Regions from separate parts of the Homo sapiens genome. Here regions 2, 3, 4, 5 and 6 are each linked to region 1. Evidence: promoter capture Hi-C in 16 types of primary human blood cells and fetal thymus (Javierre and others, 2016). All regions are on one chromosome and are shown on one strand. Each heading gives the region's core, a stretch centred on a gene start or on the middle of the fragment in contact. The rest is flanking DNA. Distances are from core to core; before and after follow the strand shown. Region 1 holds the start of NUMA1-AS1 (NUMA1 antisense RNA 1). Region 2 has its middle 3.7 kb from the start of CLPB. Region 3 overlaps CLPB (ClpB family mitochondrial disaggregase). Region 4 overlaps CLPB (ClpB family mitochondrial disaggregase). Region 5 overlaps CLPB (ClpB family mitochondrial disaggregase). Region 6 overlaps CLPB (ClpB family mitochondrial disaggregase).

Region 1 (4,381 bases), core at 1,730-4,229:
ACTATTGGTAAGAACCCAATTTGGCCACTTACTAATAACCATGTAGCCCTTGATCAAGGCACTTAGCATCTGCTTCAGGTTCTTGCTCTGTAAGAGGAATGGTAGTAGCTGCCTCCCACATAAGCTGGGTGTGGTGATGCATGCCTGTAGTCCCAGCTACTCGGGAGGCTGAGACAGAAGAAGCTCTCGAATCTGGGAGGTGGAGGTTGCAGTAAGCCAAGATCTCGCCACTGCACTCCAGCCTAGGCGATAGAGCGAGACTCTGTCTCAAAAAAAAAAAAAAAAAAAAAAAAATTAGGGATGAACCCAGCATAGCCTATTGTAGGTGCTTAGTGAACAGTGGTGAAGAAGTGGGTTTGGGACTGGGGGTTGCTGCAGCTGCTGCCAGTGGTATTGCTGCCCAGAGGATGGTGGGCAGCTGGTGGTGATTTGGATAATCTAGGACTCAAGACTTATCTGAGGAAGGGTATACGGTAAGGAAATTTGAAGTAAACTCAGCAGCCTTGGGGAAGTAGTAAGCAGGTTACATTATGACTTTATTGTGCCTTAGAACTAGGTCTAGAGAATCAGGTCCCTCATGCTCCCAGTTCCATGGTTTCTGCTTTTTTCTAGGCCAGGGCAAAAGGAGATCTTGGTAACAAGATGATGGGCCCCATGTTTGCTGATGTTTATGAGGGCTTGTGTGGTAATCTGGTGCCTGTTCCCCCTCTCTGTTCACATGGGTCTCATTTACTCCCAGAAATGCCTTGAAGAGAAGAACGAAATCCTTCAGGGAAAACTTTCACAGCTGGAAGAACACTTGTCCCAGCTGCAGGATAACCCACCCCAGGAGAAGGGCGAGGTGCTGGGTGATGTCTTGCAGGTAGGAATGCACAGAAAGACCTGTGTGCTGCTGGTTGGTGTGGACTCACATTCAGTACATTTGGGTTCCTGGTGTTCCTCCATTTCCAGAGGAGTCTTGATGACTGAGGAGTCATGCTGATCCCAGTTTGTCTCTTTATACCACCAGCTGGAAACCTTGAAGCAAGAGGCAGCCACTCTTGCTGCAAACAACACACAGCTCCAAGCCAGGGTAGAGATGCTGGAGACTGAGCGAGGCCAGCAGGAAGCCAAGCTGCTTGCTGAGCGGGGCCACTTCGAAGAAGAAAAGCAGCAGCTGTCTAGCCTGATCACTGACCTGCAGAGCTCCATCTCCAACCTCAGCCAGGCCAAGGAAGAGCTGGAGCAGGCCTCCCAGGCTCATGGGGCCCGGTTGACTGCCCAGGTGGCCTCTCTGACCTCTGAGCTCACCACACTCAATGCCACCATCCAGCAACAGGATCAAGAACTGGCTGGCCTGAAGCAGCAGGCCAAAGAGAAGCAGGCCCAGCTAGCACAGACCCTCCAACAGCAAGAACAGGCCTCCCAGGGCCTCCGCCACCAGGTGGAGCAGCTAAGCAGTAGCCTGAAGCAGAAGGAGCAGCAGTTGAAGGAGGTAGCGGAGAAGCAGGAGGCAACTAGGCAGGACCATGCCCAGCAACTGGCCACTGCTGCAGAGGAGCGAGAGGCCTCCTTAAGGGAGCGGGATGCGGCTCTCAAGCAGCTGGAGGCACTGGAGAAGGAGAAGGCTGCCAAGCTGGAGATTCTGCAGCAGCAACTTCAGGTGGCTAATGAAGCCCGGGACAGTGCCCAGACCTCAGTGACACAGGCCCAGCGGGAGAAGGCAGAGCTGAGCCGGAAGGTGGAGGAACTCCAGGCCTGTGTTGAGACAGCCCGCCAGGAACAGCATGAGGCCCAGGCCCAGGTTGCAGAGCTAGAGTTGCAGCTGCGGTCTGAGCAGCAAAAAGCAACTGAGAAAGAAAGGGTGGCCCAGGAGAAGGACCAGCTCCAGGAGCAGCTCCAGGCCCTCAAAGAGTCCTTGAAGGTCACCAAGGGCAGCCTTGAAGAGGAGAAGCGCAGGGCTGCAGATGCCCTGGAAGAGCAGCAGCGTTGTATCTCTGAGCTGAAGGCAGAGACCCGAAGCCTGGTGGAGCAGCATAAGCGGGAACGAAAGGAGCTGGAAGAAGAGAGGGCTGGGCGCAAGGGGCTGGAGGCTCGATTACAGCAGCTTGGGGAGGCCCATCAGGCTGAGACTGAAGTCCTGCGGCGGGAGCTGGCAGAGGCCATGGCTGCCCAGCACACAGCTGAGAGTGAGTGTGAGCAGCTCGTCAAAGAAGTAGCTGCCTGGCGTGAGCGGTATGAGGATAGCCAGCAAGAGGAGGCACAGTATGGCGCCATGTTCCAGGAACAGCTGATGACTTTGAAGGAGGAATGTGAGAAGGCCCGCCAGGAGCTGCAGGAGGCAAAGGAGAAGGTGGCAGGCATAGAATCCCACAGCGAGCTCCAGATAAGCCGGCAGCAGAACGAACTAGCTGAGCTCCATGCCAACCTGGCCAGAGCACTCCAGCAGGTCCAAGAGAAGGAAGTCAGGGCCCAGAAGCTTGCAGATGACCTCTCCACTCTGCAGGAAAAGATGGCTGCCACCAGCAAAGAGGTGGCCCGCTTGGAGACCTTGGTGCGCAAGGCAGGTGAGCAGCAGGAAACAGCCTCCCGGGAGTTAGTCAAGGAGCCTGCGAGGGCAGGAGACAGACAGCCCGAGTGGCTGGAAGAGCAACAGGGACGCCAGTTCTGCAGCACACAGGCAGCGCTGCAGGCTATGGAGCGGGAGGCAGAGCAGATGGGCAATGAGCTGGAACGGCTGCGGGCCGCGCTGATGGAGAGCCAGGGGCAGCAGCAGGAGGAGCGTGGGCAGCAGGAAAGGGAGGTGGCGCGGCTGACCCAGGAGCGGGGCCGTGCCCAGGCTGACCTTGCCCTGGAGAAGGCGGCCAGAGCAGAGCTTGAGATGCGGCTGCAGAACGCCCTCAACGAGCAGCGTGTGGAGTTCGCTACCCTGCAAGAGGCACTGGCTCATGCCCTGACGGAAAAGGAAGGCAAGGACCAGGAGTTGGCCAAGCTTCGTGGTCTGGAGGCAGCCCAGATAAAAGAGCTGGAGGAACTTCGGCAAACCGTGAAGCAACTGAAGGAACAGCTGGCTAAGAAAGAAAAGGAGCACGCATCTGGCTCAGGAGCCCAATCTGAGGCTGCTGGCAGGACAGAGCCAACAGGCCCCAAGCTGGAGGCACTGCGGGCAGAGGTGAGCAAGCTGGAACAGCAATGCCAGAAGCAGCAGGAGCAGGCTGACAGCCTGGAACGCAGCCTCGAGGCTGAGCGGGCCTCCCGGGCTGAGCGGGACAGTGCTCTGGAGACTCTGCAGGGCCAGTTAGAGGAGAAGGCCCAGGAGCTAGGGCACAGTCAGAGTGCCTTAGCCTCGGCCCAACGGGAGTTGGCTGCCTTCCGCACCAAGGTACAAGACCACAGCAAGGCTGAAGATGAGTGGAAGGCCCAGGTGGCCCGGGGCCGGCAAGAGGCTGAGAGGAAAAATAGCCTCATCAGCAGCTTGGAGGAGGAGGTGTCCATCCTGAATCGCCAGGTCCTGGAGAAGGAGGGGGAGAGCAAGGAGTTGAAGCGGCTGGTGATGGCCGAGTCAGAGAAGAGCCAGAAGCTGGAGGAGAGGCTGCGCCTGCTGCAGGCAGAGACAGCCAGCAACAGTGCCAGAGCTGCAGAACGCAGCTCTGCTCTGCGGGAGGAGGTGCAGAGCCTCCGGGAGGAGGCTGAGAAACAGCGGGTGGCTTCAGAGAACCTGCGGCAGGAGCTGACCTCACAGGCTGAGCGTGCGGAGGAGCTGGGCCAAGAATTGAAGGCGTGGCAGGAGAAGTTCTTCCAGAAAGAGCAGGCCCTCTCCACCCTGCAGCTCGAGCACACCAGCACACAGGCCCTGGTGAGTGAGCTGCTGCCAGCTAAGCACCTCTGCCAGCAGCTGCAGGCCGAGCAGGCCGCTGCCGAGAAACGCCACCGTGAGGAGCTGGAGCAGAGCAAGCAGGCCGCTGGGGGACTGCGGGCAGAGCTGCTGCGGGCCCAGCGGGAGCTTGGGGAGCTGATTCCTCTGCGGCAGAAGGTGGCAGAGCAGGAGCGAACAGCTCAGCAGCTGCGGGCAGAGAAGGCCAGCTATGCAGAGCAGCTGAGCATGCTGAAGAAGGCGCATGGCCTGCTGGCAGAGGAGAACCGGGGGCTGGGTGAGCGGGCCAACCTTGGCCGGCAGTTTCTGGAAGTGGAGTTGGACCAGGCCCGGGAGAAGTATGTCCAAGAGTTGGCAGCCGTACGTGCTGATGCTGAGACCCGTCTGGCTGAGGTGCAGCGAGAAGCACAGAGCACTGCCCGGGAGCTGGAGGTGATGACTGCCAAGTATGAGGGTGCCAAGGTCAAGGTCCTGGAGGAGAGGCAGCGGTTCCAGGAAGAGAGGCAGAAACTCACTGCCCAGGTAAGG
Region 2 (4,381 bases), core at 940-3,439, 420 kb before region 1:
CTAATTTTTTTATTTTATATTTTTGTATAGACAGGGTCTCACTTTGTCGCCCAGGCTGGTCTCAAACTCCTGGCCTCGAGTGATCCTCCTACTGCCTTGGCCTCACAAAGTGCTGGGATTACAGGCATTAGTCACTACATGAGTCACTGTGCCCAGCCTGAAATTTGTATTACTCCAGTGTCTGCCTAGTGGTAATTCTCTATTTCTCTCTTTCTTCTACATTTATTGATTGAACTTCCACTGTAAGAAAGAGCTGCCTCGGGCCAGGCGTGGTGGTTCACGCCTATAATCCCAGCACTTTGGGAGGCCGAGGCGGGCAGATGACAAGGTCAGGAGATCGAGACCATCCTGGCTAACACAGTGAAACCCCGTCTCTACTAAAAATACAACAAAAAAAAAAATTAGCCGGGCATGGTGGCGGGCGCCTGTAGTCCCAGCTGGAGGCTGAGGCAGGAGAATGGTGTGAACCCGGGAGGCAGAGCTTTCAGTGAGCCGAGATCGCGCCACTGCACTCCAGCCTGGGCAACAGAGCGAGACTCCGTCTCAAAAAAAAAGAAAGAAAGAAAGCTGCCTCTTCCCTCATTCCTCCCCTATTTATCTATTTATTTATTTGATTATTTATATCATATTTGTTTTACTCTGTGGATCAAAACCCCATATGGTCATTACTTTTCAGTTAAATTGTTCCTACTTAGGTCATTATGAACTCCTTCACACTGGCTCCTGTGTTCTTTTCACAAGCCTGCATCTGGTTTTGAGCCTTTCCTAACTTCCTGGCACATACGATGTTGTTGACTCATTTTGGATTTTCTCTGCCCAGTCCTGAAAACAACCATTCTCCAAGGGTAACTGGTTTCTGGGTTATTGGAGAATGCTGTTTATGTCTGGGTGTTAGGTGTGTTCAATTTTTAGGGTGTAATTGCTTCTAGACCCTCCCAGAGGCTAGGTAATATATGTAATACACGAACCCATACATACTTACATATTTATATTTCTGTATTGATCTGTCTGTATCTATTTTTAAAAACCATGAGTTTTACAGCTGGGCATGGTGGCTCTAACCTGTAATCCTAGCACTTTGGGAGGCTGAGACAGGCAGATCATTTGAGGTCAGGAGTTTGTGACCAGCCTGGCCAACGTGGCAAAACCATATGGTCAATAACCAATTGAGACCAATCAGGCTGGTTCGAGACCAGTCTGGCCAACATGGCGAAACCCTGTCTCTACTAAAAATACAAAAGTTAGCTGGGCGGTGGTACATTGCTGTAATCCCAGCTACTCAGGAGGCTGAGGCAGGAGAATCACTTGAACCTGGGAGACGGAGGCTGCAGTGACCAAGATCGCGCCACTGCATTCCAGCCTGGATGACAGAGCAAGACTCCGTCTCAAAAATAAATAAAGTAAAAATAAAATTAAAGCCATGAGTTTATGCTGATACATCTGATTCCAATTCAATACCACAAGGTTCATTTTAGCTTTCTTTTTTTCCCTATTTATAACTTCTTTCTCCAACAGTGAAAAGCCCAGCTACTATCTATTTACTTATTTGTTTAAAAATGTGTGTGTGTGTTGTTGTTTTGTTTTCTTTTTCTGGAAAAGTTTTTCTCAGAAACCTATAGAATGTGTAGCACCAAATGGCCTCCAACTCCATGCCAGAGGCAGCTGACCACAGCAACTGCATTGATTCTTCACTTTCTGTCTCCTCCTAAACCCCATTCAGATATCCCCCAGTCACCTTCCTACAAACTAAAACTGGAGTTCTCTCTCTCCCAACCCAACAGTTAGAAGCTTAGGGCCAAGGTGGGGTCATTGGAACCTGATATAAATTTTTGCTTTCTGAGCAGACCAAAAGGAAGCCATCCTGCGTTGAAAATCTGTTAAAATGTGACCTAAGAGTTTTTTGTGTGTTTGTTTGTTTTTTGAGACGGAGTCGCCCCGTCGCCCAGGCTGGAGTGCAATGGCGCGATCTTGGCTCACTGCAACCTCCGCCTCCTGGGTTCAAGTAATTCTCCTGCCTCAGCCTCCTGAGTAGCTGGGATTACAGGCGTGTGCCACCACGCCCAGCTAATTTTTTGGATCTTTAGTAGAGACGGGGTTTCACCATGTTAGCCAGGCTGGTCTCGAACTCCTGACCTCAAATGATCCTTCCAACTCGGCCTCCCAAAGTGCTGGGATTATAGGCATTAGCCACTGTGCCTGGCCCTGGATTGGTTATTGACCATACAGAATTCACTCTGAGTCCCAGCTGATTCTAATGGGTGGGGTTTTTTTGTTTGTTTTAATTTTAGTTTATTTTTCTTTTTTTTGGAGACAGGGTCTCACTCTGTTGCCTAGACTGAAGTGCAGTAGTGTGGGGATCCTCCTGCCACAGCCTCCTGAGTAGCTAGAACTACAGGTGTACACCCCCATGCCTGGCTAATTTTTTATTTTTTGCAGAGACTGTGATCTCACCATGTTGCCCAGGCTGGTCTCAAACTCCTGCCCCAAGTGTTGGGATTACAGGCACGTGAGCAAGCACACACGACCCTAATGGGTGTTTCCATACTTCCTCACTACATCCCCCACTCAGAGATTGATAATTTAAGCTTTTCAGTATCCCTACCAAATACTGATAGTAATTAAACCCTTCCTTGAACCCCTCGCAGATGGTATCTGTGAAAATAAAATAAGAAAATCAATGGGGAAGTGCTTTGAAAATTATGCATTGCTAAGTAAACTGAAGGGCCCTGGGATGTGTCTGCAGTGAGAGGGTTTGAACTCTGCATCTGGTAATGGGAGCTTTCGGAGACTGCTCTTCCTGCTGTGACCACCCTAAGTTGGGAGACAGAAATGTTTCAAGAATACAGGGAAGGTGAAGTTGCTATAGTGAATGGGGTGGTTAACAAAATAATATGTGCTGAAAATCTCTCAAAACAGAAAGGTCAAAATGCTTTCATTATTGAGTGCTTTAAAAATGATTTAAAAATAGTTATTCAAGGCTGGGCACGGTGGCTCACGCCTGTAATCCCAGCACTCTGGGAGGCCAAGGCAGGTGGATCATCTGAGGTTGGGAGTTTGAGACCAGCCTGACCAACATGTAAAACCCCGTCTCTACTAAAAATACAAAAAAAATTAGCCAGGTGTGGTGACACATGCCTGTAATCCTAGCTACTCGGGAGGCTGAGGCAAGAAAAGCGCTTGAACCTGGGAGGCGGAGGTTGCGGTGAGTCAAGATCGCGCCATTGCACTCCAGCCTGGGCAACAAGAGCAAAACTCCATCTCAAAAAAAAAAAAAAGTTATTAAAGCCAGGCGCAGTGGCTCACGCCTGTAATCCCAGCACTTTAGGAGGCTGAGGCAGGAGGACTGCTTGAGCCCAGGAGTTCAGACCAGCTTGGGCATCATAGCGAGACCTAGTCTCTACCCAAATAATAATAATAATAATAATAACAAAAAATTAGCTAGGTGTAGTGGTGCCAGCTGTGGTCCCAGCTACTCAGGAGGCTGAGGTGGTGGGATGATCCCTTGAGCCCAGGAGGTTTCAGGTTGCAGTAACAACTGTACTCCAGCCTGTGTAACAGAGCGTGACCCTGTCTCAAAAAAAACCAAAAAAGTCGCTCATTCATTCCTGTCTTACTAACGGATGTGGAAATGAGAAGTTCCATCTTTGCCTGGAGGAAGTGTAGAATACACAGAGCAGAGAATATACAATGATAGCTACCATTTCTTGAAGACCTACTGTGAGCCAGGGACAGTGTTAGGGGCTTTCTACATATTATCTTATTTAATACAAGCAATCATCTTGAAGGCAGGAATTGATATCTTCAACAATGAGTAATTAACTACCAGAGAGGTAAAGGGAGTTTGTCCAAGGTCACCCATATAAATGCAAGAGTCAAAATTAAAATCCACGTCTGCCTGAATGCCAAAGCTCAAGTACTCTCCAACACTAATAAGGTGAGAGTAATCCATTCACTGAAAAAAATATTTGAGTGCCTCAGGCCGGGCGCGGTGGCTCACACCTGTAATCCCAGCACTTTAGGAGGCCGAGGCAGGTGGATCACGAGGTCAGGAGATCGAGACCATCCTGACTAATACAGTGAAACCCCGTCTCTACTAAAAATACAAAAAAATTAGCCGAGCATGGTGGCGGGAGCCTGTAGTCCCAGCTACTCGGGAGGCTGAGGCAGAAGAATGGCGTGAACACAGGAGGCTGAGCTTGCAGTGAGCTGAGATCGTGCCACTGCACTGCAGCCTGGGCGACAGAGCAAGACTCTGCTTCAATAAATAAATAAATACATAAAAATAAAAAAACTGAGTGCCTCTTTTGTTCCAGACATTGTTCTGAGTGCTAGTGATATAAAAGTGAAAAAACAAAGTCCTTGTCTCATGGGGCTCATGCTG
Region 3 (4,381 bases), core at 543-3,042, 380 kb before region 1:
TTCCACTGAGGGATGGATTGGGAGCCTCCTACCTTTCCCAGTGAACAATGGCCAGCAATGGAGTGTGACGACTGTTGACCATTCCAGAAGTCTGGTGGACCAGAACAGGGCTTTGGGAGGTGCAGAGCCTGGGGGGCCAAAAGCTGTTCATAGGACAGTCATTTCTCCAGATGTAGCTTTCCTTAAAGCTCTGGTATTGTTAGGTGCTTGCAATGGAGATAAAAATAGTCTCATGAGTTTTAGCACGGTTTAAGTACTTCTTGGCCCTCTGTTCCAGCAGCACTAAGATGTTTGTAAATTAGAAGTTTAAGTTGTTCCTAGTCCCTTAATTAGAGTATATGTGCAGAGGATAGTGGTTTAGAAGAAAAATTGTAAGACTTAGATTCTTATAATTTCTAATTCATAAAAAAGGAGCTGTAAAAACATGTATCTTATAAAGCAGTAGTACCCAGAACATATAAAGAAGTCTTACAAATCAATAATAAAAAAAATCTAATTTTTTTAAATGGGCAAAATATTTTAGCAGATGCTTCATCGAAAAAGAGATGGGTGGCAAATAAGCACATGAAAACATACTCAGTGCAAATTCAAGTCACAATGAGATACCACTACATACCTGCTACAGTAGCTAAAATTTAGGAAAACTGACAATACTAAGGGCTGACAAGGATACAGAACAATATTGATACATCACTGATAGGAATGCATAATGGTATAGCCACATTGGAAAACACTTTGGCAGTTTCTTATAAAGGTAAAGTATACATTTACCATACCACAGAGCAATAGCAACTCCTAGGTATTTGTCTAAGAGAAATAAAAATGTACGTCTGCAAAAATACCTGTATGTAAATATTTATAGCAGCTTTATTCATGACCACCAAAAACTGGATATAATGCAATGTCCATCAACTGGTGAATGGACCAACAAATTGTGGTATATCCATACGGTAAAAACAGCCAAACAAACAATGACAACAACAAAAGCACCATGCTAAGCTAAAACCAACACAAAAAGCTACCTGCTCTGTAATTCCATGTATATGACATTCTGGAGAAGACAGAACTTTAGGGGCAGAAATCAGATTGGTGGTTGCCAGTGTTTGGGAATGGGAAGAGAATATAAAGGAACTTTTTGGGATGATGGAGAAATATTCTGTATCCTGATTATCATGCTGGTTACATGAATGTATATAATTATCAAAATTCATTAAATTATATATCTTAAAAAGGATGAATTTTACTCTGTGTAAATGTGATACTTCAGTAAACTGACTTTAAACACTTTTTAAAAAGCTGTCATCCCTCTCTAATTTTCATTATTAATTGTGACCAGTGGCATACTGAGAATTTGTATTAGTAGTATCAAAATTAATTCATATTGTTAATGGTCACCTGGAATGTTTTGAATTCTTATTGTTGATGATATCTCACATTAGAGTGATATGCATTCTGATTTTTAGTAGGGAATGAAGATTTGTCAATTCATACTATCAGTGATGTAATGAAGTATAATTACTGATGAATAGTGATAAATTCACTTTATGAGTAGTGTACAGTGGACTTGTATAAATTCATAAAGTATATGATTCTTCATTCCAGCAAGGAGAAAGTTGAGGTTACAGACTGGGAGCTTGCCTCTCCCACACTATTCTTGGGTTCCTTATCTCTGGACTCTCATGCAGGGACACCACCTATATAGTGAGGCCGTTGTGGTGCTTCAGGAACCAAAGATCCTGAAAAGGGAGGCTGGTGTGGGGAGATTTTGATTTCATCCTGCTTGGGCTTGGTGGTGGCTTTTGCAAGCCTTTGCCTCGGAGAAGGTGAGAACTGCAAGGCAGAGCATGAAGCACATCAGAACTGTTTGAAATTCCCCACAAGAGTCTCCCTCCCTCCTTCTGCCTTTTCTCCCCGAGTGCATTTCATCAGTGTCGGAAGGACTGGTTCCCGGCACTGCCTTCCCTGCTTGGCCAGGGTCCCCGAGGAACTGAGCTAATGAGTGGATAACACGCATTTGCCAAGGCCTTCCTGGATGTGGTACCCGGGCTTTGTTAATTTTAAAGTGCTGCCATCCTTGGCTGAAGACCATTCAATTCCCTCTCACAGCAGTCATTTATTTTTAGCATTTGCTTATTTTCCCTCTGCCTTACTAAGGGGAGAGGGTGCATTAAACCCTTTCTTTAAAAAACCGATAGCCTAAGCCAGATTGCTGTCCTACAGAAGAGGTTTTAAAGGCCTTCCTTTGTGGACCCCAACAGCTCCATGGGTGTTCTTAGAGCGAAGAGCAGATGCTAATCTTGCAGCTAGACTACTGGCAGCCTCCCTGGGAGGCTCTGCTTCCTTCCTGGCTAGCTATACGTGGAGCAGGTAGAGTACCAGTGTACCTGTGCTTGAAAGTAGGTCCTTAGGGAACCTGACCAACCACATGGAAGTCGGTCCTGCCTTAGGGGCACAGAGCCTTTTCCGTCTTCTAACCTATTCTTGGTCTGGCTTCGTGCTGTAGAGTAGGGCTACCTTCTGCCCAAGGAGGCTGGGCTTTGTGCTGTGTGATCTCCTGACTGTAGTAATGATGATGGCAGTAGTTGATTGGGTGCTTTCTGTGTGCCAGGCCCATGTCAAGCACTTCCCATGTTGGGTCTAATCCTCAGGGCAATCTTGAAAGGAAGGGATTATTATTCCTATTTTACAGATAGGGAAAATGAAGCTCAGAGTTGTCCAAGGTTGTCCAGCTAGTAAAAGAAGGAGCCAGGATTTGAAGCTGGGTCTTTCTGAACCCCAAACCCTTGCTCTTTCCACTGGACTACACTGCCTATGGAGGGAAGGGGCCGGGAGCAAGGCCATGGGATGGACCGAAGGATGCTGGAACCAGGAGTCAAGTCGGCTCTATCAGGGTTTCTTGATGACCCATGATGTATTATATGGATTTTGAGAACTGTAAAAACAGACAAGCCACTCTCCTTGTTCTCAGAAAGCTGACACTCAGAAAAGGGATAAAAGTCCCGCTTTGGAGAATGAGGCAGAATGTGTTCAGTGCCACAGAGAAGAACACATAGAGTGCTGTGGAGGAGATGATGCTGTGTAGAGCCAGCATCATGAAAAGAGGCCCTTTCAGAGGAGTTGGGCAGGATTTGATTGGTAACATAGGGAGTAGGGGGAGAGCATTTGCAGAAGGACCATTGTGAGCATAGGCTCACAAAGGTGGAAAGCAGAGATGTGCTCGTAGAAGCAACCGGCAGGGAACCCAAGAACATGGGACCCCTGAGCAGGGTACCTTGATATAGGCTGGCTTTTGTTACAGGTGGCCACCTGCCCAGTGCAGGACAGTACCCAGTATTCCCCAGCAAGGAAGGATGGGTGAGGGTGCTGGCCAAGTGCCCAGAATGCCAGCACCGCAGCACCGTGCCCCCAGGAAAGTGTTGGGCTTGACGTTTCTCCCACCCCTACTGCTATGGCCGATTATCTCTGAGTAAGAAAGAGTCATTTCTAATCCCATTTGGAATCGTTGCTCAAGATAATCCTGTTTTGTGGTAATGATATTCCAATTCCAGCATGCACTCGTAGTTTGGCAGACACATGCCTCAACCTCAGGCAACTCAAGACGCTGCTCCCTGGAAATCAGTGCCAGCTCATTTGCCTAACGTGACAGTCTCAGGGTATACTTCCTGGGCCCAATGCTCTGTTCTGTCCTGGGGTTCTGTGTTCAGTGCTGTCTTCATGGAGAGTGGCAGTTGGGGATAGGAGAGCATCCAGTGTTCATTATGGAGAGTGGCAGTTGGGGATAGGAGAGCATCCAGTGTTCATTATGGAGAGTGGCAGTTGGGGATAGGAAAGCATCCAGTGTTCATTCAGTTCAGCTGCTTGGGGCAGGGTGTTCCATCTCTAGGAACTGTGAGATGGTCTAGTTCTATACCTCTTCTTTAAGAGACTTCTTTAAAAACAGCTGTACCATAAGCTGCTTATTTTAACAGAGCTGCCAGGCTGGTGGGCCAGGGGTCGGCAGTAGATATCATGGGTGTTTCAGGCTTTTAGTAAGATATTTGGATGTCTCTAATGACATCTATATGAGTAAAATTATGATGTAAAAATAGTATAGTCAGACTAGTAAATGTAAATGACCTGGTTCATTGTTTATGTATGAATGGACATCAGACTAGAGAGCAGGCTTGAGTGGTGAGCAATGGGGCTCTGTCCTGTTCAGTATTTTATATCACTGATTTCATTGAGGTCATTGATAAATGCCAACAGAGTTAATGAAGCTTGAGGAGGTACTAATATATTGGGTGAAAAAATAGGGGACATTAAATAAAACCTCAGTGGGCTAGAGCAATGGTTAAATCTGTGTTGATAAAAACTAACAAGGATAAGTATATGGGTCAACAAT
Region 4 (4,381 bases), core at 1,101-3,600, 350 kb before region 1:
TTTACATACTATACAATTCACCATTTGTTTTTATGGAGTGTGAATTATATATCAATAAAAAAAGAAAGAAAATGAATTATACAAGAGCTTAATATAAAAAAGCTTCTCTTCCTCTCCTCTCACACCTCACTAGAATTCCTACCTCATTTCTTTTTTTTTTAATTTTGTATCAAATATTTTTATTTCAACTTTTCTTTTAGATTCAGGGGCTACATGTGCAGGTTTGTTACCTGGGTATATTGCATGATGCTGGGGTGTGGTGTATAATTGATCCCATCACCCAGGTACTATGCATAGTATCCAATAGTTTTTCAACCCGTGCCCCCCTTCATCCCTCCCTCCTCTAAGAGTTCCTGGTGTCTATTGTTGCCATCCAACAGGGTACTCATGTCCATGAGTACCCATTGTTTAGCTTCCACTTATAAGTGAGAACAGGTAGGCTGGGCACAGTGGCTCACGCCTGTAATCCCAGCACTTTGGGAGAACATGCAGGCTGGACACAGCTCATGCCTGTAATCCCAGCACTTTGGTAGGCCAAAGCAGGCGGATAACTTGAGGTCAGGATTTCAAGACCAGCCTGGCCAACATGGCGAAACCCCAACTCTACTAAAAATACAAAAATTACCCTGGTGTGGTGGCACGCGCCTGTAGTCCCAGCTACTCGGGAGGCTGAGGCACGAGAATCACTTGAATCCAGGAGGCAGAGGTTGCAGTGAGCCTAGATTGTGTCACTGCACTCCAGCCTGGGCAACAGAGAGAGACTCCATCTCAAAAAATAATAATAATAGTAAGTGAGAACATGCAGTATTTGGTTTTCTGTTCTTGTGTTAATTTGCTTAGGATGATGGCTTCTAGCTGCATCCATGTTGTTGCAAAGGACATGATTTCATTCTTTTTTATGGCTGTGTAGTATTCCATGTAGTATCCCATGGTATAGTACCATGTTTTCCTTATTCCGTCCACCACTGATGGGCACCTAGATTGATTCTGTGTCTTTGCTATCGTGAATAGTGCTGTGATGAACATATGAGTGCCTGTTTCTTTTTGGTAGAACGATTTGTTTTCTTTTGGATATATACCCAGTAATGAGATTTCTGGGTTGAATGGTAGTTCTGAGTTCTCTGAGAAATCTCCAAACAGCTTTCCATAGTGGCTGAACTAATTTACATTCCCTCCAACAGTGTATAAGCATTCTCTTTTCTCTACAGCCTCACCAATAAGAGCCATTCTGACTGGTGCGAGATGGTATCTCATTGTGGGTTTGATTTGCATTTCTCTGATGATTAATGATGTTGAACATTTTTTCATATGTTTGTTGGTTGCTTGTATGTCTTCTTTTGAGAAATGTCCTTGTCTTTGGCCCATTTTTTAAATGGGATTTGTTTTTTGCTTTGTTGAGTTGTTTAAGTTCCTTATAGATTCTTGGCTGGGTGCGGTGGTTCATACCTGTAATCCCAGCACTTTGGGAGGCTGAGGCAGGTGGATCACCCATGGTCAGAAGTTCAAGACCAGCCTGGCCAACATGGTGAAACCCTGTTTTAGAAAACAGGGTTTTCTAAAAATACAAAAATTAGCCGGGTGTGGTGGTGCACACCTGTAATCCCAGCTATGTGGGAGGCTGACACAGAGGAATCGCTTGAGCCTGGGAGGCGGAAGTTGCAGTGAGCCAAGGTCACACCATTGTACTCCAGCCTGGGTGACAAAATGAGACTCCATCTCAAAACAAAACAAAACAAGACAAAAGACCCACATAAGTTCCTTATAGATTCTGGATATTAGACCAGTGTCAGATGCATAGTTTGCAAAAATATTTTCTCCCATTCTATAAGTTGTCTGTTTACTCTGTTGATAGTTTGTTTTGCTGTGCAGAAGCTCTTTCATTTAATTAGGCCCCATTTGTCAATTTTTGTTTTTGTCATAGTTGCTTTTGAGGACCTAGTAATAAATTCTTTGCCAAGGCTGATGTCCTGAAGGGTATTTCCTAGGTTTTCTTCTAGGATTTTTATAGTTTTAGGTTTTACACTTAAATCTTTAATCCATCTTGAGTTGATTTTTGTATATGGTGAGAGGTAGAGGTCCAGCTTCATTCTTCTGCATGTGGATAGCCAGTTATCCCAGCACCATTTATTGAATAGGGAGTCCTTTCCCCGTTGCTTATATTTGTTGACCTTGTTGAAGATCAGTTGGGTATAGGTGTGTGGCTTTATTTCTGAGTTCTCTATTCTGTTCCATTGGTCTATGTGTCTGTTTTTGTACAGTGCCATGCTGTTTTGATCACTATAGCCTTGTAGTATAGTTTGAAGTCAGGTAGTCTGATACCTTTGGCTTTGTTCTTTTGCTTAGGATTGCTTTGGCTGTTTGGACTCTTTTTGGTTCTATATGCACTTCACCATTTAGAGTATATAACTCAATGGTTTATATAGTATATTCACAAGAGTTGTGCAAACTATTATGACAATCAGTTTTAGGACATTTTTATCACTCCATAAAGAGACCTCGTATTCATTATCAGTCACTCTCCATTTCTCTTCAACTATTCCCAGCTCCTGGCAACCACTAATTTACTTTCTGTCTCCATAGATTTGCCTAATCTGGACATTAAATAGAAATTGAATCTTATTTTATTTTTTGAGACAGGGTCTTGCTCTGTCCTCCAGGCTGGAGTGCAATGGTGTGATCACGGCTCACTATAGCATTGACTTCCTGGGCTTAAGGGATCCTCCATCTCAGCCTCCTGAGTTGCTAGGACCACAAGCATGTGCCACCACAGCCCCTAGTTAATTCTGTACTTTTTAGTAGAGACGGGGTTTCACTATGTTAGCCAGGCTGGTCTCGAACTCCCAACCTCAGATGATCCTCCTGTTTCACACTCACAGAGTGCTGGGATTACAGGTAGGAGCCACCACCCCCAGCCTCATTGTGGTTTTGATTTGCACTTTCCTGATAGCCAGTGATATTGAGCATCTGTTCATGTGCTCTTTGGCCATTTGTATGTCTTATTTGGAGAAATGTCTATTCCAGTCCTTTGTCCATTTTTTAAATTAGGTTTGCCATTGACTCTTGTGAGATAGGTGATATTATCTGTTTGGAGATGAAGAAGCTGAATCTCACAGATGTTAATAAAGTCACACAGTCAGTTTTGCTTTCCAGGCTTGCTGACTCCAGCCCCCATGGTCTTTCTAATACACGTTGCTGCCTGCTGAGGAGTCATACTGGGGTCACCAGGGTCCTCTATGTGGCAGGAAGGGAGGAGGAAAGGAAAAAGGTGGGAAGGAAAATTTGTTTGAAGGCTGGGTGCAGTGAGTGGTTCATGCCTGTAATCTTAGCACTTTGGGAGGCTGTGGCAGGAGGACCACTTGAGCCCAGGAGTTTGAGACCAGCCTAGGCAACATAGGTAGACTCCATCTCTCTCTATATATTTTTTTTTAATAAAAAAAAATTTTTTGGCCGGGCGCAGTGACTCACACCTGTAATCCCAGCACTTTGGGAAGCTGAGGCAGGTGGATCATCTGAGGTCGGGAGTTCAAGACCAGCCTGGCTAACATAGTGAAACCCCATCTCTACTAAAAATACAAAATTAGCTGGGCATGGTGGCGCGTGCATGTAATCCCAGCTACTCGGGAGGCTGAGGCAGGAGAATCACTTGGATTGTTGCAGTGGTTGCAGTGTTGCGGAGGTTGCAGTGAGCCGAGATCATGCCATTGCACTCTAGCCTGGGCATCAAGAGTGAGACTCCATCTCAAAAAAATAAATAAATAAAAAGTAATTGGAATACACTTCATGCTGAAGCTCTCTACACTTTTTTTAGTTTGAATGGTGGTGGAAAAGATGAAAATGATGAGATGAAGTAACTCATCCAAGTTGGAAAGTCGGAGACCTTTCTGGTGGGTTGTAGACAACTCCCTCACATACACACACATTGTAGATGCCATTCCTGAGCAGTGGCAAGAAGGGGCAAGTGCTCTGCTTCTAACTGGTGCTGTGATGCCTCAGCAGGGTCTTAATTTGTATAGAGTCTTCAGTGAGAGGAAGCTGAGAGGCCAGAGGCTTCTTCCTAGAGATTCTTGAAAGAAGTTAGCTTAGTCCCTGAGCTTCAGCTGGTATCAACCGACCCTGAGTTATATGAGGCTTGGGCCTGTGGGCATTGGCAGAAGCTGCACAGTACAGAAGATAGAGCAGAGGCCATGGAGCCACTCAGGCTTAGGGTCTAGTCCTAGCCTACCACCGACCAGCATTGCAAGTTGAGCAGGCCACCTAACCTCTTTAAGCCTGTGTTTCCTCATCTGTTCAATAGAGATGATAGTACTTGAACTGTCGGTCCTACATGGATTGTCATGAGGATGAGGGAATGATTGCCTTGAAGTGCTCCCTACACTTTAAA
Region 5 (4,381 bases), core at 1,165-3,664, 330 kb before region 1:
AAGGGCTGAGGACTCGGGCTTCGGTGACACTCAATAACTTGGAAAAGAAGAATGAACTGCAAAGGAGAGAAAGTCATGGATATTGCATATCATGGAAATCAAGGTAGAAAAGAAGGCCAGGCATGGTGGCTCTTACCCCTGCAATCCCACCACTTTGGGAGGCTGAGGTGGACAAATGGCTTGAGCCCGGGAGTTTGAGACCAGCCTAGACAACATGGCAAAACCCTGTCTCTACAAAAAAAAAAATACAAAAATTAGCTGGGTGTGGTGATGTGCCTGTGGTCCCATCTACTCAGGAGGCTGAGTGGGGAGGATTGCTTGAGTCCGGGAGGTGGAGGTTGCAATAAGCTGAGATTGCGCCACTGCACTCCAGCCTGGGTGACAAAGTGAGACCCTGCCTCAAAAAAATATGTTTTTTTAAGGTAGAAAAGAATTAAAAGGAGGCAAGATTGGTCAGCAGTATAGATTACTGCACCCATGGAGAGGAGGAAAAAGAGGTTGCTGGATGTGGTAATGACATTCATAGCCCTACCTCTCAGCACAACTTCATCTGTGCTTATTCAGGCTGAAGGAAGACTCTCCTGATCTGTGGGCAGTGGTTTTGTCGAGCAGTATTGCCCATGACCATAGGAGGCCTCTCCTGACAAACAGAAATGGAAGGAGCACAGCTCAGCTGTGTCATAATGGGGCCATAATTATTCAGTCAGCAGGTATTTTTTAAACTCCTACTGAGTGCCAATTACTGTTCTGGGCACAGGGTATCACAATAAAGATCTCATTTTTAATCTTTGCTTCTCTCTCACTACTTTCTAATAAGTTGGAAGTTTCTTTTACCCAGGACCATTCATCTGTTTTGTCATGCATCCTCAATTCTGGGACAAACTTGGTGAAATCCTCAGAATTAATGAGGGAAAAGCATCTTGAAAAAAATGGAATCACTAGCAACAGCAAGGAGCTCTGGGTCAAAGTGGTCCTCCTGGTGTTTGTAGTCTATCCCTGTCCTCTCCCCTTCCTCCTAGCCTCCCACCACCTTTCCACTTTTATTTTTGGTGATGGTTGCCTGGTGACTGTGGTTGGGCATAAAAGAAGGTGCATAAACTGGAAGAGTCCTTGTTGGCAGAAGCTTCTGGTTTTTTTAAAAAGCAAATGTTTTATGAGGGAGATGAGTAATTCCTTCAGCCTTGAATGAAAGCAGGTATCAGCAGATAAAACAGTTCCTGTTCCCAGAACCGTAGCCTATAACATTTGATATTATAGTTGAAGATACTACCTCCCCCACCCCCACATTTCCGATTCTCTCCATATAGGGAAGTGCAATTAGCAAAAAATATTTCATTGGTTTCTGTTGCTGTGAGTGTTCACAAAGGCAGCCATAAATAAGGCTTCCTATCTTCCTTGAGTTCAGACTGAAAGTCTGTATATTTGAGTGTACCTCATTCCAGTGAGCTTGGCTCAACCACTACTTTAATGTGCTGATACTTTTCATCCAAGCAGAGGGCTCTACTTGGCTTTGGGAATAGATGTGTAAGTGGAAGCAAAAGTCATCTCTTGATAACCCCTCTTCTCTGCCCTGCACATTAGGCTAGGATTGGTCAACAGAAGCTTAAACATCTGGTCAGCTCAGTCCTTTGGGGTGGTTGGGGTCTCGTAGACAACCCATCAAGATTGATTGGCCTCATAACTGAATTAGCCAGATGTGTGGGCATTGTGTGCCCTTTCCTCAGCCTCCTTTCAATGTTGTTAGATGGAAGCAGACGTAGGATTAGCATGTTTGAAGATGATGTGTTTTTAGTGCATGAACAAAAGCTGCCGCCTTCTACGGAGACTGTGGCTGTGCCCCAGACGTTAACAGTGTAATTATGACTGCTAAATTCAGCCCAGACCCCAGGCTCGGATGCTTTGGTCTCAGCTGTCATTTGCAGGAGGGAAGACTGCAGAGGCCTGAGGACCCTGGCTCTGATAGTGCACTTTGAACTCTGCTTTATCCAGAGCCTTTCCCTCCCCACTGACAGTTGCTCCTAGCTGCTCTCTGGCCATAGAACCTGCTGCCACCTCTGAGGAGAGTCTGTGCTATACTGTGGGGATAAGGAGGAGTAGGGCTGGCCTCTTGAAAGCCCACGACTTCCAGGAAAGTCGTGAACATTTTCATTTTGGGACTTGTCCAAAATGAAAATGAGCTAAGGATCCTCACTTCTTTGCCTGTGTCACATGCTATTCAGAGCATTATCCACCGTTAGAAAACCTCTACGTTAGCTTTGCATTGACCAGAGATCCTTGGCAGGAGTTTTTGCTTTTGCTGTTTTCCTTGTCTAACTCTGTTATGTTTGAATATTCATTTCCATGGTTTTTATACCACCTCTTTCTAACCACACTGATCTACCTATTTTCCGTAGAACAAACCAGGCATTTTCATGTCTTCCATAGCTTTGTTGATGCTTAATATTCCGTAGACATCTCTCATCCTCAATGCGTCCAAATCCATACCTCCTCACACTTTCTTCCATGTTCTCTTTGATGAATAGTATGGTTGTCTACTGGTCGCTCAAACTAGGAAGTGTTATGTCTGATGACTTCTCCCTCACTTTCCACCAAGCCCTGTCTTTCTTAGAATTTCATCTTAAGCCCATTCTCTCCTCTGTCCCCACTTCTCTAATTCAGGCTTCATCACTCTCACCTGGACTATTATAACAGCCTTGTTCTTCCTACCTCTAGGATCCCATCAAACCAGCCTCCATCTCACAAAACCATGTCACTTTCCTGCTTTAAAACCTTCAGCAGTTCCCACTGCCTATAAATTAAGCCCAGATGTTTAACCCAGCATGCAGTCACTCTAAAGTGACTTCTGCCACCAGTTTCCAAGAGAGGATGAGGATGATGGTTTGCTTCAGGATTGGGATCATCCTGTGGGCCTACCAGGAGGATGCCTGCAGCCAAGTAGGCCTGGGAGACAGGAACTGTCTCTGCCTATGGCCCACTGAACTGTTCACTACCTAGCATAGTTTTTCCTGCCTCCAAACCTGTCCTCATTCACTTTGCCTGGAATATCCTTTCCCCACTTCTCCACCTATCAAACTCCTACTTAGCCTTCAAGATCCAACTCATTTATATCTTTAATGTATAACTTTCCATGGTTGGCCTACATGAAGTGAATCACTTCTCACTCTGTTCCCCCACAGCAATTTTAGGAGACTATTTTATTGTTTTAAAGATTGCAATTGAAGCTTCAAAAAACAGAGCTTAACATGAATCTCCTCCTTACACACCCTCTTCCTCTTGCTCCTCTGATTCTGCTGCTGGTGGCCCTGACCAGATCTCTAACCTGGGAAGGCCATCCAGTCTCCCTTCTGTCTATTAAGGAGGTAGGGTAGCCGGCTCCCTGTTCAACACCCTATCCACTGTAGGAAGGAATGGTTAGTAATAGTAATTGAAGGAAAAATAACAACAGTTACCATTTTTTGATAAAAGCTCTGGACTAAGGCTTTTCTCTCTTTTAATACTTAAAATAACTTGCCAGGCGCGGTGGCTCACGCCTGTAATCCCAGCACTTTGGGAAGCAGAGGTGGGCGGATCACGAGGTCAGGAGATGACCATCCTGGCTAACACAGTGAAACCCCATCTCTACTAAAGATACAAAAAATTAGCCGGGCGTGGTGCCAGGCTGAGGCAGGAGAATGGCGTGAACCCAGGAGATGGAGCTTGCAGTGAGCCGAGATCGTGCCACTGCACTCCAGCGTGGACGACAGAGCGAGACTCCAGCTCAAAAAATAATAATAATAACTCTGCAAGTTAGGGACTCTTATTATCTACATTTCCATATGCATAAACAAGGGCACCAAGCAGTTCAGTAACAACCAAGGTTCACCACTAAGTGGCAGAGCCATTGTGTTATTATAGCTATGATTAGGATCTCATAAGCAGAATTCCAGTGTATGTTCCCAGAGCTCTCTAGGGTCCACCCTGTCCTCTGTAGGGTCTGGCATAAAATAGGTAATCTAGAATGTTGGTTGGTTGCTTGGTTGAATGAATGAATGAATCAGCATTCTACCCATTGAACTTGCCTTCAGGCGTAAGAGGGACTGGCTGAATGTCTGTAGCTTATGCCAAGAAGTATGGATTTTGTCTCATCTCCTAATGCCCAGCTGTACACAGACATGTTCCCTCCCACTCAGTAACAAACTGCCTGGAACTCTTTCCTGGCTCATATTTACAAGAGAATGTGATAAATTCCGTATCGATCCCTCCTGTTCCACTGTAAATTTTGCAAAAGATGATTAAATAGAGCAATAGAGTCTGCAGGCATTGTGGCTCAATATGTCGTGGACTGGTGTATCGACCTCCTCCATCCAAAGGCAGCCAGCGCCTATCTCTGCTGCCCCAAACC
Region 6 (4,381 bases), core at 902-3,401, 300 kb before region 1:
AATACATAAGGCTTCCTGGAGAAGGATTTAGAAGAAAGTGGAAGCCTTCTTCATGCAAGAGTGGTAGTAACTACCTGGGGCACTAAGAGACTCAAGTCTAGGCCTTACTCTTCTCCTCTTCTCTGTAAAATGAGTTGAAGTACCTGTTCTTTCTCCCTTGCAATTTGAGAAAGACCAATAATTCATTTAGTCAGCAAGTATTAAACCAGTGTTGGGCTAGTCTCAGGGGTCCTCAGAAAATAGGGCACCCAGGACACCCAGCACCTGCTCCCATGGAATATGGTCAGATTGGGGGCACACCCTCCCTGCCAGACACAAGGGCACAGGTAGATGAAACACCTTACACTGCCCGTCTCTGAGCCTCGGTATCCTGTGTAAAATGGAGATAACACCTACTTATCAGGATTATTAGGAGGATGAAAGAGTTACTGTAAAATACCAAAGCTAATGGTAACTACCATTGCTGCTGCTATGACTACCATTATTTTTACTCTTATTGTTATCCCACTCCTCGCCACTTACAAATTGCTTTCATCACCATTAACTTGTTTAATCTGCATGTGGGGCTGACACAGTATATGTGACTGTTCCCATTTTATAGAGGAAGAAACGGAGGCTCTAAAGGAATAAGTGTTTTATTTAAAGTCAGTCAGCTGGTAAGTGACAGAGGCGGGACTCCATGCTAGATCCTGTAACTCCTGCCCTCTCCACTATACCACCCGGTAGATGAATGCATGCCAGAGAATACAGACCTGCAAGTTAATGGCTAGATGTGGTGTGGTGGAGTGAATCAAAAAGAGCTGTTGCAGGTGAGTTTTCAGATGGTCCAGTAGTGACAAGCATGGCCAGGAGAAAGCAGAACACAAGCCAGGTGGGCACCCGGCACTACCTGCTGGGAGGCAGAGCAGCCTGCCTGGAGCTTGTGGCGATGGGACTGGCCAGAGAAGGGAGCCAGGCTGCCTGTGCAGAGGGCCCTGACACCATCTCTAGCCCAAGAGCAGTGACCAAGACAGGGTTAGGGGACAGGGGCTCCTGAGGCCATGTGCTGAATGGCTGAGCAGGCCAGATTGGAAGACTACAGAGAACGTTTTCCAAGGAGTCAGGGTGTGAGGAGGTGCTGTGGCAGCGGAGAGTCAGAGGAGGAGAGCTGACCTTCCTCTAAGCTCCCATAGTACAGCGCAGGCTCAGGCTAAGCCAGAACTGAGGGTAAAGCCCAGGGTCTTTGTTTCTTCCCCCTGTAACCTTAAGCAGGTCACCTAACTTCTGCGTGCATGTTTCCTCACCTATAAAATGGAAATCAAGTCCCCTGTTCTGCTTACCTCACAAGGCTGAAATGAAATTATGTCTACAGAAGTTCTTTATAGACAACAATGAAATGTTGAAGTGAGTCAGTTGTAAATACATTTGCTGGCCACAGTGAGAGCAACAACAACTATGGCCACCTCCCACGTGGGCCCATGCAGGTCTCTGTCCCAGCCTCTACTCTGGCCTGACGGGATCCTCAAGGCCCATAGCCTTGGTCCTCGGCCACCCTGCCAACCACAAACACTAGGGCCCGCCTTCTCCAGTCCTTCCTAGCTGCCACCATTTTTCATTCTGTCAGACTCCATCTGCTTGGCTGTTTTTCTCTTCAGATATTATTAGAAATATCCAGAGTTGGAATTGCTTAATGGTTGGCATTTCACCTGTTTCACAGGGGACCCACATCAAGCCCACCCCGGACTCATGCCCTAGGTCGGGCAGAATTGACCAGGGACAGCTGTGCAGTGAAGTCTGCCTGGCATTATAAAGAGCTCTCTCCCAGGTGCATTCTTAGAAAAGAAGCGGGGAACAGTGGCCCCAGGCATAATTCAATTCCTCATTCTCCATGGTGTTTTTGTACTGCACAGCCCAGCAGTGTGCAGCTCTCTGTGGGCTGGGATGCTACCTTAAAAGAAAAGGCAGGATCAGAACCCCAGGTACATGATACCCTGCAGAACCCACGTAGGGGGATGTCTGGGTACATCTCCCTCCCCAAATACCCCATGAAGCTTGAACTCAGTTCATGCTCAACTTGTTTCCAACCTAGACTCTTAATTTAGCCAACTTTTAGAAGAACACGGCTCCTTTCACGTCACTGCTGTCACCCCTGCCCTAACACGTACACACATGTCCACACAGTATTCACAAGTCTAGCCTTTGCCGTTTCAATATCTTCACTTCCTCAGATACCCACACTCTCAGCTCCCTGTTTCTGTTGGACACCAGGGACTCCCCGCTTAGCCAAGCTTGCACTTTTCCCTCTTCATCCCCAGCATTCAGGTACCTATGAGGTCTGTGGGTTCCCCTTATAGCCAGCCTTTCCAGAGATCCTGGGCCAGTTAGTTTAGACAAAATCTGGATTCTTGCCCAGGAGAGAGGTTATACTGAGCTTTTTCTCAGGCCTCTTTCAGGATTCTCAGGGAGCATTTTCTGGGCAGGCAGAAGTGGCTAGTCTGATGTCCATGAATTTGCACAGCTTCCATCTGTTTCTACTGAGGCCAGAAGTAGAGAGAAAGTCGTATTTTAGGCAGGAACATTAGAGATCGAGATGAGAAAGACCACTGGCTTGAGGCTGAACTCCTAAAACAGTATTCCAGACCTTCACAGTCTGGTCCCACCCCACCACTCCTCATGATCATTCCTGTCTCTCCACCTCTGACATGCTGGCCACCTTTGCCTCTTCAAATCCTGCCCATCCTCCATGATCCATCACCAGTCCTGCCTCTTCCAGAGAACCTTCCCAGACCTCTGCAGTCGTTTCTTTGAAATCCAACCACACAGTATAGTAGTTAGGATCTTGGCAACTCAAGATGGGCAGACACATCCCAAACACTGTCAAATCTTTCCCCATTGACTAGTGTTCCAGGCCTTGTTCTCTGACATCTATCCCTTAGCTAATTTTCCCCTGACACCCTGGGGACCAGATCAGACATGCTGTTCCATTTGCAGACTGACCTTGACATTACACAGTACTCTCTTTCCTGCTCCTGACTGCCGTGTTTCCATTAGTGCAACCAAAATTCATACTTTTTTGAGCAGCCATATGTTACTTTTTTAAAAAAAGACGACAGGTTTAGAGAGAGAAGCAACTCTGCCATCTACTAGTTGTGTGACTTGGGCAAGTCTCTATCTGTTGCCTCAGTTTCGTGTTCAGTATAATGGAGTTGAGAATACTACTTTCCTCTCCGGGTATTTGTGTGGGTCTTGAATAGATACGTTGTTGGTGAATTTTCCCATTGTGCTTAGCATACAGCATGTTCAGTGCATGATTCTTCTTGCAGTTCTGCCTCACTCCACCCCCACTCGTATACTTGAGAATGTTTCTGAGCCTGATTCTCCTACTCCATAATTAAGCACTTAGTTTTCTCAGATTGAATGCATAGCCCTTAATTACATACGTCCTCTTGAAGAGGAGGTCAGGTCTTGCTCTAGCAGAGTTGAGCCTCCAAGGAACCTGGTACCTATCTGTCCCACTCCCCGTGCTCCCCACTCCCTCCACCACTGGAGGCTATGGTCAGCATCTCTGGTAACCATGTGGCTTACCCCTTCCATGCCCTGAGCTCCACATTGCCTTTGATTGACTTCCAGAAAATGCATTTGGCTGTGTTTCCACTTTCTGACCCAGACAGTGGACCAGACCTTAGCTTCCCCAGACAGGAAAGAGTCCAGGGCTCACACCCCACATCCCCAAGGGCCTGCCATGGGCTTCTGCCTCTTGTATTTGCATAGGAGGCGGCCCGTAGTCCCACTAGCGATGAGTAGATGAGTAACCAGTGAGAGCAGAAGTTCCTCTCGAATTCTCCTTCACCAGTCCCCCACCCCCTTCACCTCCATTCACCATCCACCCGCCTTTCAGTTTCCCTAGCAACGCTGAGTGCTCATCCTGGAAAACTTTATCCGAAATCTGCTCTGGGCAGCTTTCCAAATCCATGCTAACCTGATTACGTGTCTCTAGGGGCCTTGCCAGCTAATCAGATTAGGCAGCACTAATGGTAGTGAGGACTTTGAGTGGGCGCAGAGCAGTAAAACATATTGTATACTTAGTGATAATTATCCTGCCTTTTGTGTCATTGATTTATCTGCCTCCCTCCCTGTCCCCTGATCTTGTGTGTTTGGCCGTAGCGATCCGGAGGAAGGAGAATGGCTGGTACGATGAAGAACACCCTCTGGTCTTCCTCTTCTTGGGATCATCTGGAATAGGTAATTGGGAGCAGATCAGCCAGTGGGGACAGAGAGCTAGGGTAGTGCCCGGCCCAAGTCTGACAGCCCCAGCTGCTGCGGGCCAGGGTCAGCAGGTCCAGCTCTAGGTCAACTTGAGCTCTAAAAGCAACGGCCTCCAGATTACAGAGCCACCAAGAAA

The links. The method cuts DNA at HindIII sites, captures the fragments that hold promoters and counts their contacts. A CHiCAGO score of 5 or more calls a contact.
Region 2: a fragment that was not itself captured here is called in contact with the fragment with the promoter of NUMA1-AS1 in region 1 in 4 of 17 cell types (endothelial precursors, M0 macrophages, erythroblasts and 1 more); the score reaches 11.3 in endothelial precursors.
Region 3: a contact is called between a fragment that was not itself captured here and the fragment with the promoter of NUMA1-AS1 in region 1, in 4 of 17 cell types (M1 macrophages, erythroblasts, megakaryocytes and 1 more). The highest score is 5.9, in M1 macrophages.
Region 4: a contact is called between a fragment that was not itself captured here and the fragment with the promoter of NUMA1-AS1 in region 1, in 1 of 17 cell types (erythroblasts). The highest score is 5.6, in erythroblasts.
Region 5: a fragment that was not itself captured here is called in contact with the fragment with the promoter of NUMA1-AS1 in region 1 in 1 of 17 cell types (erythroblasts); the score reaches 5.1 in erythroblasts.
Region 6: a fragment that was not itself captured here is called in contact with the fragment with the promoter of NUMA1-AS1 in region 1 in 1 of 17 cell types (erythroblasts); the score reaches 5.8 in erythroblasts.

What each region holds. Positions count from the first base shown.
Region 1 is chr11:72,012,889-72,017,269 of GRCh38, reverse strand. It overlaps NUMA1-AS1 (NUMA1 antisense RNA 1), which reads right to left and starts at 2,979. Exons shown (of 4, transcript NR_104178.2): 1 at 383-2,979. It overlaps NUMA1 (nuclear mitotic apparatus protein 1), which reads left to right. Exons shown (of 27, transcript NM_006185.4): 14 at 740-862; 15 at 1,010-4,375. RefSeq lists an enhancer at 1,578-2,325. The HindIII fragment of the contact is 6,447 bases long and covers 2,974-4,381 here.
Region 2 is chr11:72,436,045-72,440,425 of GRCh38, reverse strand. No RefSeq gene overlaps it. Among named protein-coding and RNA genes, the nearest start is that of CLPB, 3.7 kb to the right of the region's middle. RefSeq lists a silencer at 3,483-3,532. The HindIII fragment of the contact is 797 bases long and covers 1,791-2,587 here.
Region 3 is chr11:72,393,806-72,398,186 of GRCh38, reverse strand. The region is part of intron 3 of CLPB (ClpB family mitochondrial disaggregase); the gene reads left to right. Among named protein-coding and RNA genes, the nearest start is that of CLPB, 39 kb to the left of the region's middle. The HindIII fragment of the contact is 4,933 bases long and covers 1-4,258 here.
Region 4 is chr11:72,363,571-72,367,951 of GRCh38, reverse strand. All of the region lies in intron 4 of CLPB (ClpB family mitochondrial disaggregase), which reads left to right. Among named protein-coding and RNA genes, the nearest start is that of CLPB, 69 kb to the left of the region's middle. The HindIII fragment of the contact is 4,492 bases long and covers 105-4,381 here.
Region 5 is chr11:72,340,247-72,344,627 of GRCh38, reverse strand. All of the region lies in intron 5 of CLPB (ClpB family mitochondrial disaggregase), which reads left to right. Among named protein-coding and RNA genes, the nearest start is that of CLPB, 92 kb to the left of the region's middle. The HindIII fragment of the contact is 1,619 bases long and covers 1,605-3,223 here.
Region 6 is chr11:72,308,367-72,312,747 of GRCh38, reverse strand. CLPB (ClpB family mitochondrial disaggregase) reads left to right here. Exons shown (of 16, transcript NM_001258392.3): 8 at 4,144-4,221. Among named protein-coding and RNA genes, the nearest start is that of PHOX2A, 66 kb to the right of the region's middle. RefSeq lists a silencer at 3,803-4,284. The HindIII fragment of the contact is 237 bases long and covers 2,033-2,269 here.